Linked DNA regions of Homo sapiens: region 1 is linked to region 2. Evidence: promoter capture Hi-C in 16 types of primary human blood cells and fetal thymus (Javierre and others, 2016). All regions are on one chromosome and are shown on one strand. The core of a region is centred on a gene start or on the middle of the fragment in contact, and the rest is flanking DNA. Distances in the headings are between cores, read along the strand shown. Region 1 has its middle 26 kb from the start of SCUBE1. Region 2 holds the start of SULT4A1 (sulfotransferase family 4A member 1).

Region 1 (5,610 bases), core at 891-3,390, 490 kb after region 2:
AAATGGACTAATACAGCTGTCTAGTGTTCCTAAGTGCAGGAAGTCTGGGGTATGCCTTACAGGGAAAGCCCACGTTAGAGAAGCTTCGTTCAGGCAGGAGTTAGAGTGCTGTTGGCCATGAGCTCAGTGTTAATGAGTCAACAATATATATTAAATAGGGTATCTTTAAACAGAAATATATATAAAACAAAGTTATGTGTTGATCAGTTGGTGACAACACTGTGACCCCAGACTCATAGGAATGGAACCCTGTATTTCCCTCTTGGAGCATTGGCTTAGTGTTGGGTAATTCAGCATTTTTGGTGACTTTATAGACCGTAACTGGTGTGAATAATGAGAATAGACTGCTTTCCTTACATGCTTTCTCTGAAGATTACTAGAGAAGATACTTCACTAGAATAAGGGCTAAATCAAGAAAGAGGAAAATATGGGATATGGGAAAAAGAGAAAGGCAAGGGGGATCCCAGGTTGCTGGAGGCGGGATGCCCTATAGGCATGGGGCACCAGGCTCCAGCTTCCCTGGGCAGATGGGCGTGAAGACCCCAGTGCATCTCGAAGCCCTGCGAGGAAAGGGCAGGACTGAACTAGCAACAATTGTCTAGAGAACGATGCAAAGGAGAAACCACGAAAATGATTTGCTGGGGTCGGGGTAGGGAGTGCGACTGTGCGGAAAAGGTTGACAAAGAGGACAGTCATTTATTTGCTGCTGGAAGCCATTTACATGAATTGACTCATTGAAAGCAAGGCCAGGTAGAAGGCAATCAACCAAGAGGCTGAAGAATTTGTCCAGGATCACACAGCTAAGTGGCAGAAGGAGGACTAGAACCCGGAAAAGTGGCTTAGAACTCCATGCCCTTCACCACTGACAATGCTGGTGTCCTAAAAACAGGTCTGAGGGTGGGGGGCAGGTGCGCACAGTGAGTAGGGGTCAGGAGGCAGCGATATCCTCACCTTCCAGAAACAGAGGTCAACCAATGAGGCTGACAACTAAAAAAAAAAAAAATCAAGATGGAGTCTCAGAGGCCAGGCAGAGTGGCTCATGCCTGTAATCCCAGCACTTTGGGAGGCTGAGGCAGGCAGATCACCTGAGGTCAGGAGTTCAAGACCAGCCTGAGCAACATGGCAAAACCCCACCTGTACTAAAAATACAAAAATCAGCCAGGTGTGGTGGCGGGCGCCTGTAATCCCAGCTACTCAAGAGGCTGAGGCAGGAAAATCACTTGAACCCAGGAGGAAGAGATTACAATAAGCCGAGATCATGCCACTGCACTCCAGTCTGGGCGACAGAGCAAAGACTCCGTCACAAAAAAAAAAAAAAAAAGATGCAGTCTCAGAGGCAAATGACACAGGGTAAAAACAAAATAATTGGTTAAAGGAGGTGAAATAGTTGCCTCTGGGGAGGGGACAGGAGGGGGTGAAGGACAGGAACAGGGAACTGCTGTTCCTCTTAACAAACCTTGTAGAGCTATTTGCCTGTATAAGTTTCATGAAAATAAAAGCTAAAAATAAAGAGAAGAAATAAACACTGTTCCCGGATCCTAGACAGAGCCTGCAAGCCAGGGCTGCCAGGTGAGGCCCCGGGGACGGGGTAGCCATGGCTTTTCCTGTTTGCCCTGGAGACTTTGTCTTTGACTTGGGAGACACCCTCTGGCCCTCCAACACCAAGCACGGTGGTTGGGGGTTGGGGGTGGTTCCCCGTGTGAGTTACGGCCCCAGATTGGTTGACGATCCCAGCAGGGAGGGAATCGCCTGCCTGTGGAAGACCCCAGCTGCACCAATCTTCCTGCTCATTCAGGGGCTGCTGGGCTTGACCTATCGATGTCAGTTGCAAATGAGGGGTCCTCCCACAGCTGCTCAGCCAGCCCCTCATCTGAGACCCGTGCTCCAAAAAAGAAGCTGGGGCGGCAGAGGGCTGTCACCTCACACGCTAATGACATGGGCACGGACATAAGAGGCCCCCAAGAGACACACCAAGCACCTGAGGTCACAGAGACAAAGTAGAATCCACAGAGCAGTGGTGCCCCAGGGAGGCAGGAGACCCTCATCCCATCTCCAATCCCACCCTGGTCCCCACTCCCCAGTCCAGATGGGACTCCCTGCCTCTTTCCCAGATGTCCCCCACACTGACTCACTGTGGGCGGCAGCTTTTACGTAAGAGGGCCAAGTGATGGCCCCCACAACAGATCATCTGAGGCTGAGTATTAGACACCACTGCATATCCACCACGCCCCTCTTTTTCTCTTCCTGTCAAACTCAGTAATGGAGACAACCTCCTTCCTCTGGGAGTTTCAGATGCAGAGGCAAACTTTTCCCTCTCACAGCTATGATAACGGTGTCGTCTCATCTGGCCCTTAGCAATTTTTGAACCCCAGCACATCCAGCTAGTGGAATTAATACTTCTCAGGGTTCCTTCGAGGGCCAAATGAATCATGCAGGCTGGGGTATTTTGGGAAATAAAAGGGTGAGAAATCCAAAGAATATTTTGAGAAATGTGCGCAATCAGCCCTCTCAGATGTTCAAATAGATGATTAAGTCTCTGATTAAACAGCAGAGCTGGCATGAATGGAACTGACCAGAGAGCAGAGAAATGTTCTCATGTACATGAATTTAATACATGACCAAGCTGTCTTCAGTGGGCAAAGAACAATGGAAGGAGTAGCCAATATAAAAGCAGCTTGGGGGTCGGGCGCAGTGGCTCACACCTGTAATCCCACCACTTTGGGAGGCCGAGGCAGGTGGATCACCTGAGGTCAGGTGTTCAAGACCAGCCTGACCAACATGCAGAAACCCCGTCTCTACTAAAAATACAAAATTAGCCAGGCGTGGTGGTGCATGCCTGCAATTCCAGCTACTTGGGAGGCTGAGGCAGGAGAATCGCTTGAACCGGGGAGGCGGAGGTTGCAGTGAGCCAAGATCACACCATTGCACTCAGCCTAGGCAAAAAGAACAGAACTCCATCTCAAAAAAAAAAAAAAATCAGCTTGGATGCCTTCTTCATATCTTTCACAGATGCTGAAAAAAATAAATTATTTATCAAGCAAAGCAAACCCTAGGAGGGCTGGTCAAAAATATAAGTGAATATTAACCAGATCTCAGGAGGAATGGGAAGTCTTCGAGCTTTAAAATCATTAAGGAGATTTTTTTTTTGAGGAGAAGCAAAAGTGATTGACGACTATATAAAAACAAAAAACAAATCTCCCATACCACAGAATAAAAAACTAATGGGGGTAGAGGGGAACTAAATTGACAACCAAATGAATGGCAAAGGGTTAATATCAATAATCTGTGAAAACACTACACTGGCTGGTAAGAAAAGCCTTAAACCAACAGGGTTTTTATTTTCTTTTATTTTTTGGAACTTGACGAAATGATACCAAATTTCATCTGGAAAAATAAACGTGCGAGACCAGCCAGGGAAATTCTGAGGAAAAACAAAAGTAGTGGAGGAGGGCTGGCTTTACCAGATGTTAAAACATCTTAGGAAAGTACAATAACTTTTAAAGTTTAGCCCTGGAAAAGAAGTAGACAGTTCCATCCAGACGCGAGTGCAGAAATGGATGGAAATATGTAGGATTTCAGCACGTGAATGAGAGAAGGAATTTCACATCGGAGGGGAAAGGTGCATTGTTCAAAGTAAGGCATAGAGATAAGTGGGTAGCGGCCATCTGGAAAAAATAAAACAGAATCCCTACCTCACCCCCTACACCCAGATCAGTTCCACATGGGTCCAAAATTTAAACCAAAAAATTGAACCTTAAAAATTCTAAAAGAAACATAGGTGAACTTACAATCTTTGGAAAGGAAAGATCTTTATAGGCAGGATACAGAACACAGAAGCCACAATAAAATTCATTTGGGGAAATCAATGGGTGAGAAGTCCCAAGAATATTTTGAAAAAGATGGGGAATAAGCCCTCTCTGATATTAAAATACATGATTAATGGGGAGATGAGAAACAGGCTTTCCTCCATAAAACAGTTCAATACGTGATAATGGTGTCTTCTCTGGACAATGAACAATGGGAAGAACATTCAGACTGTGAAGTTGGGACATCATGAAAAGAAACATAAGTTTAAGTCCATTTTCCACATATACTAAAGAATAAATTATTTATAAAGCAAATCAAATCTTAGGCTGGCCAAAACAATAAAGGAATATTGAACCGGACTCTAAAGGAATGAGAACCTTGCAAGCTTTAAATGATTGAGGAAATCATGAAGGAAAAGGAGAACTGATTCAACTATTTAGAAAAGACCTTCTATATCAAAAAATCAAAGTGCAACAATTTTGACTACGTAACATTTTTTCATTTCTAGGTGAATAAAAAAGGTATATACCAAGTCAAGACAGAGCTGAACAGGGACTGACATTCACAGAATTAATTGCTTTAATTTAGAACATGTTTATACAAGTAAATGAAAGAAAGACTTAAAACCTAACAGATAATTGACAAAATCTGAATATGAAAAAGCAACTCCCAGAAAAACAAATTCAAGTAAATGGTAGCCATATGAAAAATGTTCAAGCTCACTCATCATCAAGAAACAATACAATGCCCTTTGGGGATAGGTTAAAAACCTATCCAATTGGCCAAGATTTGTAAGTTTGAAAATACCCCAAATATATGGAAAAATAGCCATTCTCAAACACTGTAGTGGGAGTATGAATTGGTCTATTCCACTCCTTTTAATGGCTGTATAATACTTCATGTGTGGATGTAGCAACATTTATTCAACCAGTCCCTGTTTATGGACATTTAGGGTTTTTTTCCTCCCAGTTTAGAATGAAAAGTGGTACCATGATGAACATCCTTGTACACACATCTTTGCATCCATGTGTAAACACATTTGTAGTAGAAATTCTTGGCAATGGAACTTCGCAGTAAATGCTGGTTTGCTATGAAAATTTTGAAAGATGTTTCCAAACTGCCTCCCGTAGGGTTACAGTCGTTTATACTCTGACCAATTGTATGTGAGCTGTGTTCCTATACCTTCTCCAGCAGCAAAAATTATAGCATTAATATTGTTTTGTTTTCATTGTTAAGTATATTTTTTAAAAGGGCAGTGGGGGCCAGGTGCGGTGGCTCACGCCTGTAATCCCAGCACTTTGGGAGGCCAAGGCGGGCGGATCACGAGGTCAGGAGATCGAGACCATCCTGGCTAACACTGTGAAACCCCATCTCTACTAAAAATACAAAAAATTAGCCAGGCGTGGTGGCAGGCGCCTGTAGTCCCAGCTACCGGGAGGCTGAGGCAGGAGAATGGCATGAACCCAGGAGGCGGAGCTTGCAGTGAGCCACGATCACACCACTGCACTCCAGCCTGGGGGACACAGTGAGACTCCGTCTCAGAAAAAAAAAAAAAGGGGGCAGTGGGGTGGAGTGGGGTGGGGTGAGTAGGGGGATTGTCAGGAAATTGCAAGTTGTGGTACAAATGTAAGACATTTTGATTTCTTCACCTTTGCCACTTACCTACCACAAGCTCCTCAGCTCATCCCCTTCCCTCCCTGGGCCTCAGTTTTCCCATCTGTGAAACAGGAGAATGAAATAAATTGATATTTTTCAAACTTACTCACCAAATGACAAAGCTGAGTGAGGTGATCTTACCTCTGT
Region 2 (6,019 bases), core at 1,886-4,385:
ATATATCATCACCTACATTCACCAATTGTGGCTTTTCCCACATTTTCTTTCTCGCTCTCAATGTGTATACATACATGTGCTTGCATTAGGGTTATAATTGTGGTTTTATTTTTGTAAAACCATTTGAAAGTAAGTGGCAGACATCATGATTCTTCACCCCCAAATACTTCCACATGTACCTCTGAGGCAAATGGACATTTTTACATAACCACAGTGCAGTTTTCAAATTTAGGAAATTTAAAATAGAATATCATCTAATCTAGAGTCTATATTCAAATATTGCAAATTATCTCATTAATGTCCATTATGGCTTTTTTTTTTCAGACGGAGTCTTTTTCTGTCACCCAGGCTGGAGTGCAGTGGTGCAATCTCAGCCCACTGAAACTTCCATCTCCCAGGTTCAAGCAATCCTCCTGCCTCAGCCTCCTGAGTAGCTGGGATTATGGTGCGTGTCACCACTCCCAGCTAATTTTGACCAGACCTCACTTACAAAACAAACCCAAAGATAAATGCAACAATTTCAAGATAGTGACCACAGACCATTAAATTCCAAAGTGTGGGGCCCTTCTGAGCACAGAACCCTGTGTGACTCCCCTGGTTGCGTATCCGTGAAGCAAGGCCTGCATCTATGTCCATGTCTGTACTTTTATCTATGTCTATATCTTCATGTAACCGCCACTAAGAGCAAGCTATGATGTTTCCAACACTATGGAGGGTAGGTAACCTTGAGTCTGCTCCCAGTCAACCCTCTTTCCAATGCCCCAGGTTAAGACTATTCTCACCTCTATCACTATAGATCAGTTTTGCTTGGTTTTGACTGTATATAAATAGAATCATATGACATACCATTTTTTGTGCTTGACTTAGTTTGTTCATCATTTTGACTGTGACATTCTTCTCAGTTACATTCCTTTTTTAAAAAAATTACTGTATTCCATTGTATGAATATATCGCAATTTATCTATTCTACTGTTGGGTACGTGGGTTTTTTCCCATTTTTGTCTAACATGCTCAAATTGTTTCCGATTTGACCTATGATAATACTTTCATGTTATACCCTGTGTCCTTCTGACCTATTCCCAACATTTTTGAACTTGCAGGAGTTCAAGACTCAACAAGACATTTTAGGCTCATCTTGTACTTTCCTTGCCCTGGAGTTGGCTTTTTCTCCAAGAAACCCCAGGTTCATTTGGTGAGGGAAGTATTTAGCAAAGATCTGGGCAGTGGGTATGCCTAGTATTATTGAGATATCACTGCCTAAAGGCTTTTCCAGCAAATATAAGAAATAGGAATTTTAAAATATCATAAACTCATGTCAATACCTCCAATTCCAATCCAATACCATAGAGTTCTTCCCTGCCTTCTCGCATTCCCCACTTACATTTTCCTTCTCCCACAGTGAGAACCCTCACCTGAAACATCAGGATATTCATTCATTCACTCAATCCCTCTAGCTTTTGGCTAGATGCCCTTTTGCCATTGGCCTAATTATTCTGAATAAAGGCTGGGTGCTCGGAATGTCCTCTTTCTTTTTTGGAAAGACATCTACAAGCTTCCCAAGTCAGGATTAATTGCTGTTTCCTCTCTCTGTCTGCTATGTACACATGGCCTGCGCTTCTCAGCCCATGTGTATGTCTTTGGTGTCAGAATGCACGTGTCTCACTCTACAGTAAGAAGGAGAGAGTAGGAATAGGTCCCGTCCAGCCACTCTGCTCCAGATTCTTGTTGGTGTAAACTCCTTCCATCTTCCTGGCTACACTACTTAGAGGTAGGAATCATTCTTTTCCTTTACACAGCTGATGATGCTCGGCTGCAGAGAATGAGAGCAGGCTGTGTTGTTTTCATCTTTGTGCTTCCCCAGGCATGTTAGTAGGTGCTTCATATATGTCTGTTGAGTGCATGACTGGCAAGGGGTTGCACTGAGATCTCTAGAACTCGGTTGCTCTCAAATTATAGTTTGCACAAGAAGTGCCTTACTAAATGTATATTTTTGTAATTTTTCTCCATAGATCTGGGGTCCTGGAATTTGCAATCCAACACTCCCCTCCCCTACTCATGGGATATTAAGAAGCACTTTTTGGCTGGGCGAGGTGGTTCACACCTGTAATCCCAGCACTTTGGGAGGCCAAGGTGGGCAGATCACGAGGTCAGGAGATTGAGACCATCCTGGCTAACACGATGAAACCCCGTCTCTACTAAAACAAACAAACAAAAAATACAAAAAATTAGCCAGGCATGGTGGCATGTGCCTGTAGTCCCAGCTACTCGGGAGGCTGAGCCAGGAGAATGGCGTAAACCCGGGAGGTGGAGCTTGCAGTGAGCTGAGATCGCGCCCCTGCACTCCAGCCTGGGCGACACAGCGAGACTCCATCTCAAAAAAAAAAAAAAAAAAAAAAAAGCAAAAAAAAAGCACTTTGTTTTTTTGGCTGGACTAGGTGGCCCATACTTTTTTTTTGTTGTTGTTAGAAGATCTCGTCCTGTTGCCCAGACTGGAGTGCAGTGGTGCAAGCTCACAGCTCACTGCTAATTTTTTTTTTTGTATGTTTGTAGAGATGCGGTTTCACCATTTACCCAGGTTGGTCTCGAACTCTTGACCTCAGGAGATCCGCCCGTGCTCGACCTCTCAAAGTGCTGAGATTACAGGCGTGATCCACCGCGCCTGGCGAAGACGCATATTTTTAATAGGACCTAATATTTACCTGAAATTATCTTGGTTATTTACCAATGTAAGCTCCAACAGGGCCAGGCTTCTGCTTGCTTCTACCCTGACGCGTGTCGGGGCCCTGGCCCAGTGCCTGGCACAGATCAGCAGCGCGCTAAGCACGTGTTGAATGGACGACTACCTTTCAGGGCCTTCCAGCCAGGGTATCTCATGCGTCTGTGTTGAGCGCTTGCTGAGTGACAGAAGCTATGAGCGGAATGAACGCACGCACGACTGAGGAGGCTGCAGACCGCGGGCCAGGGTCTCTGTCAGCCCCGGCAGCGGGTGGGTGACCCCGGCCGGGGGCGGGGCGGGGAGGACGCGGCTCCGCGGCGCCATGACGTCACGCCCGTGCAGCGCCGCGGCCGCGTGCCGGGCGGCGCCATGACGTCATACCCGCGGAGCCTCCGCCGCGCGTCGGCGGCGCCATGACGTCACGCCTGCGGAGCTGCCGCCGCGCGCCGGTGGGGCGCGAGCGTGTGCGGGGCGCGGGCGCGGGCGCGGGCGCGGGCGCGTGCGGGCTGCGAGCCGGGAGGCGGCGGCGGCGACGGCGACGGCGGCGGCATGGCGGAGAGCGAGGCCGAGACCCCCAGCACCCCGGGGGAGTTCGAGAGCAAGTACTTCGAGTTCCATGGCGTGCGGCTGCCGCCCTTCTGCCGCGGGAAGATGGAGGAGATCGCCAACTTCCCGGTGCGGCCCAGCGACGTGTGGATCGTCACCTACCCCAAGTCCGGTGAGCCCCGCGCCGACCGCGCCCGCCACGCCATGCCCCAGCCCTGCAGCGCGGCCGCGTAGACGCCGCGCCCGCGCCCGGGGCTTCTGCTGGGCCGGGTGGTCGCCCTTGGCCTCCGCCCCTGCCGTGCCCACCGCTCTCCCGATGCTCGGATCCCTGCGGGGCGGGGTGGGGTGGGGTGGGGGTGGGAAGGGGCTTGGTTCTCATCTGGGGAAACCAAGGTCAGAGACCTTCGGGAGCGGCCCCTTCCGTGGAGATGGAGCCTATTTGGCCGGCGCTGCAGGAGGATGGGCCCAGGGCCGCCACCCATCCCTGCTTCTCCCTTTACCTGGCTGGCTGTGTGACCTTGGACAGGTCACTCAACCTCTCTGTTCCTGAATCCTGCCCAACCTTTGATGAGTGCAAAGTCCTGGTGTTCACCTGGGAAGGGAGATAACATGGGCGTCAGGGCTTTCAGCGTGGAAACGTAACGTCCCTCCTTTCCAGCCTGGGCTCCGGGTGGGGGATGGGACCAGTCCCCGCCTGGAGTGCCTTGCTTGTACATTCTCTTGTTTCAGGGCTGCCTCCATCACCGAGGCAGGACCTGGGGCATTCACATTTCCCAGCATTAGCTGACGTCACTTTCACAATAACAGCTGTGTGAGCTAGTGGTGGTCATTCCCACTTTACAGTCTAGGCACAGAGGCTCAGAGAGGGGAAGAGGCTGGTCCAAGGTCACTCAGCTGGTGAGTGGCTGACCTGGGAATTAAAGCTAGGCTGGTCTGTTTCCAGACCTGAGGTAGGAGATTGTATAGTACCCCATCTGAGGTTTTTAGGGAAAGGAGGTAGCAGCTTTCCTGTTCTGTAAACATGCCCTGGGATTTCCTTGTTGCCACTGTATTTGAGGCAATCACAGCGTGGTTTAGAAGGTGTCTGGCTCTAAGGTCACGCCGGACCAGCAGTCGGGCAGTTTCAGGAAAAGCTGTAGGCTTGGCTGTTGTAGCTGTATGGAGTTCCAGACACCTGAGGGCAGGTCTCTGACATTCTTCTGAGGAAGATTGGAGTAGGGACTCTCAGTGGAGGGTGTTGGTTGGAGAACAGAGCGTTCGATGGGCTGCTATCTTGAGCACATGCCAGTCGCCGCATGGGGTGGGACCTAAAATGCTTTAGGAATGGCTAAGCGTGTCGTTGGCTTCTGTGGCCACTCATTAAGTCCTGCGGGCCAAGTGCTCTATCGCTGTTAATCTGTGAGGGACTCTTACACCTTTTTTTCAGAGGCTCAGAGAAGGCACAAATTGTTCGGAGTCACACAGTTGCTGAGGGACAGAGGTCAGGTCTAGCTAGGTCTCCCGGTCCACGGCCAGCCTCTCCCCTGCCTTATGGGTGCTCCGTTGCCCTTGGAAAACCGTGAGGGCCCAAGAAGGAGGGGGACCTAGCCTTCTTTCTTGGAGGCTTTAAAATGCTGGAAGTCTCAGCCACTTAGGGATTTTGAGGTTTGTGTCACTTCTCTGAGGCCCCTCCAAGTGGACTTCTGGTAGCCCAGTTCATATTTTCTTTTCCTTTCCTTCCATCTGCTACTGGGGATGGATTTGTAGCAGGCATCAGTGCTTACACATTAAGAACCTGGCTTCGGAGTTGGAAGTCCTGGGTTTGAATGCAGTTTTGCGGCTTACCAGCAGAGTGACCCTGGGCAGATCATAGAATCCCATTGAGCTGTGGTCTCTGCGGAGGGAGAAGAGACCACCTCGGCCCGCTGATGTGTGGCTGTGAGGATGAGCAAAATGGCGGGTGAGAACGCTTAGCCCACGTCCAGACACACGCTGGAAAGGCTCGTGGTTAATGCTGACTTTTAAGCCCTGAACACCTGTTGTGCCCAGATGCTTTGCTAGGGGCTGGGGAAGCCGAGAGGGCCCCATCTGGTGCCTGTCCTTAGTGAGCTCTCAGTCTGATGGGGGAGACATGGTTGGTGCTGGGGTTGGGGCAAGTAGCCAGGACTAACAGGTGCCCCATTCACCTGCCATGGCAGGGAACCCACGGGCCTCCTTGGATTTCCAGTGCCCAGGTGTAGGAGATCCTAATGAACTTGCAGGTGGTCAGAGCCGGAAGGGCCTGGTCCCTTGTCAGCCCCTTCCCACCCTCTGCTGATGGAGAAACTGGGGTTCAAAGGGGTGGTGGGGGCTTTCTGGTGGCTAAGGCAATGATAATTAGATCCTGCCTTCGCTTCCTGTCCGGTATTTTTTCCCACAACCCCGTGCTGCTTGCTCGGATTCTTTTTGTGCTTGCGACATTCTAGCTTAGATGGCGGGTTAGGACTGTGCTCTCCAGCGTAGGACCCTCTGCCCACAGGCGGCTGCTTACATCTAATGAATTAAAATGAAATAAAAGTGGAAATTCTGTTCCTCAGTAGCATCACCATGTTTCAGGTGCTCAGTAGCCACATGGGGCTAGCGGCTGCCGTATTGGGTGGCGCAGATATGGAGTGTTCCCATCACAGCTGAAAGTTCTGCTGCACAGCGCCAGGTAAAACCGTGATCCAGACAGTAGGAGCCCATTGTGTCTTCTGAGAAGGACCTTTCTGTTGATGACCGACTTTGTTCCTATTCATT

The links. The method cuts DNA at HindIII sites, captures the fragments that hold promoters and counts their contacts. A CHiCAGO score of 5 or more calls a contact.
Region 1: a fragment that was not itself captured here is called in contact with the fragment with the promoter of SULT4A1 in region 2 in 1 of 17 cell types (endothelial precursors); the score reaches 6.3 in endothelial precursors.

Annotation. Positions count from the first base shown.
Region 1 is chr22:43,366,304-43,371,913 of GRCh38, reverse strand. No RefSeq gene overlaps it. Among named protein-coding and RNA genes, the nearest start is that of SCUBE1, 26 kb to the right of the region's middle. RefSeq lists an enhancer at 1,780-2,281. The HindIII fragment of the contact is 4,109 bases long and covers 86-4,194 here.
Region 2 is chr22:43,859,629-43,865,647 of GRCh38, reverse strand. SULT4A1 (sulfotransferase family 4A member 1) reads left to right here and starts at 3,135. Exons shown (of 7, transcript NM_014351.4): 1 at 3,135-3,434. The coding sequence starts at 3,266. RefSeq lists an enhancer at 4,820-5,319. The HindIII fragment of the contact is 4,757 bases long and covers 1,555-6,019 here.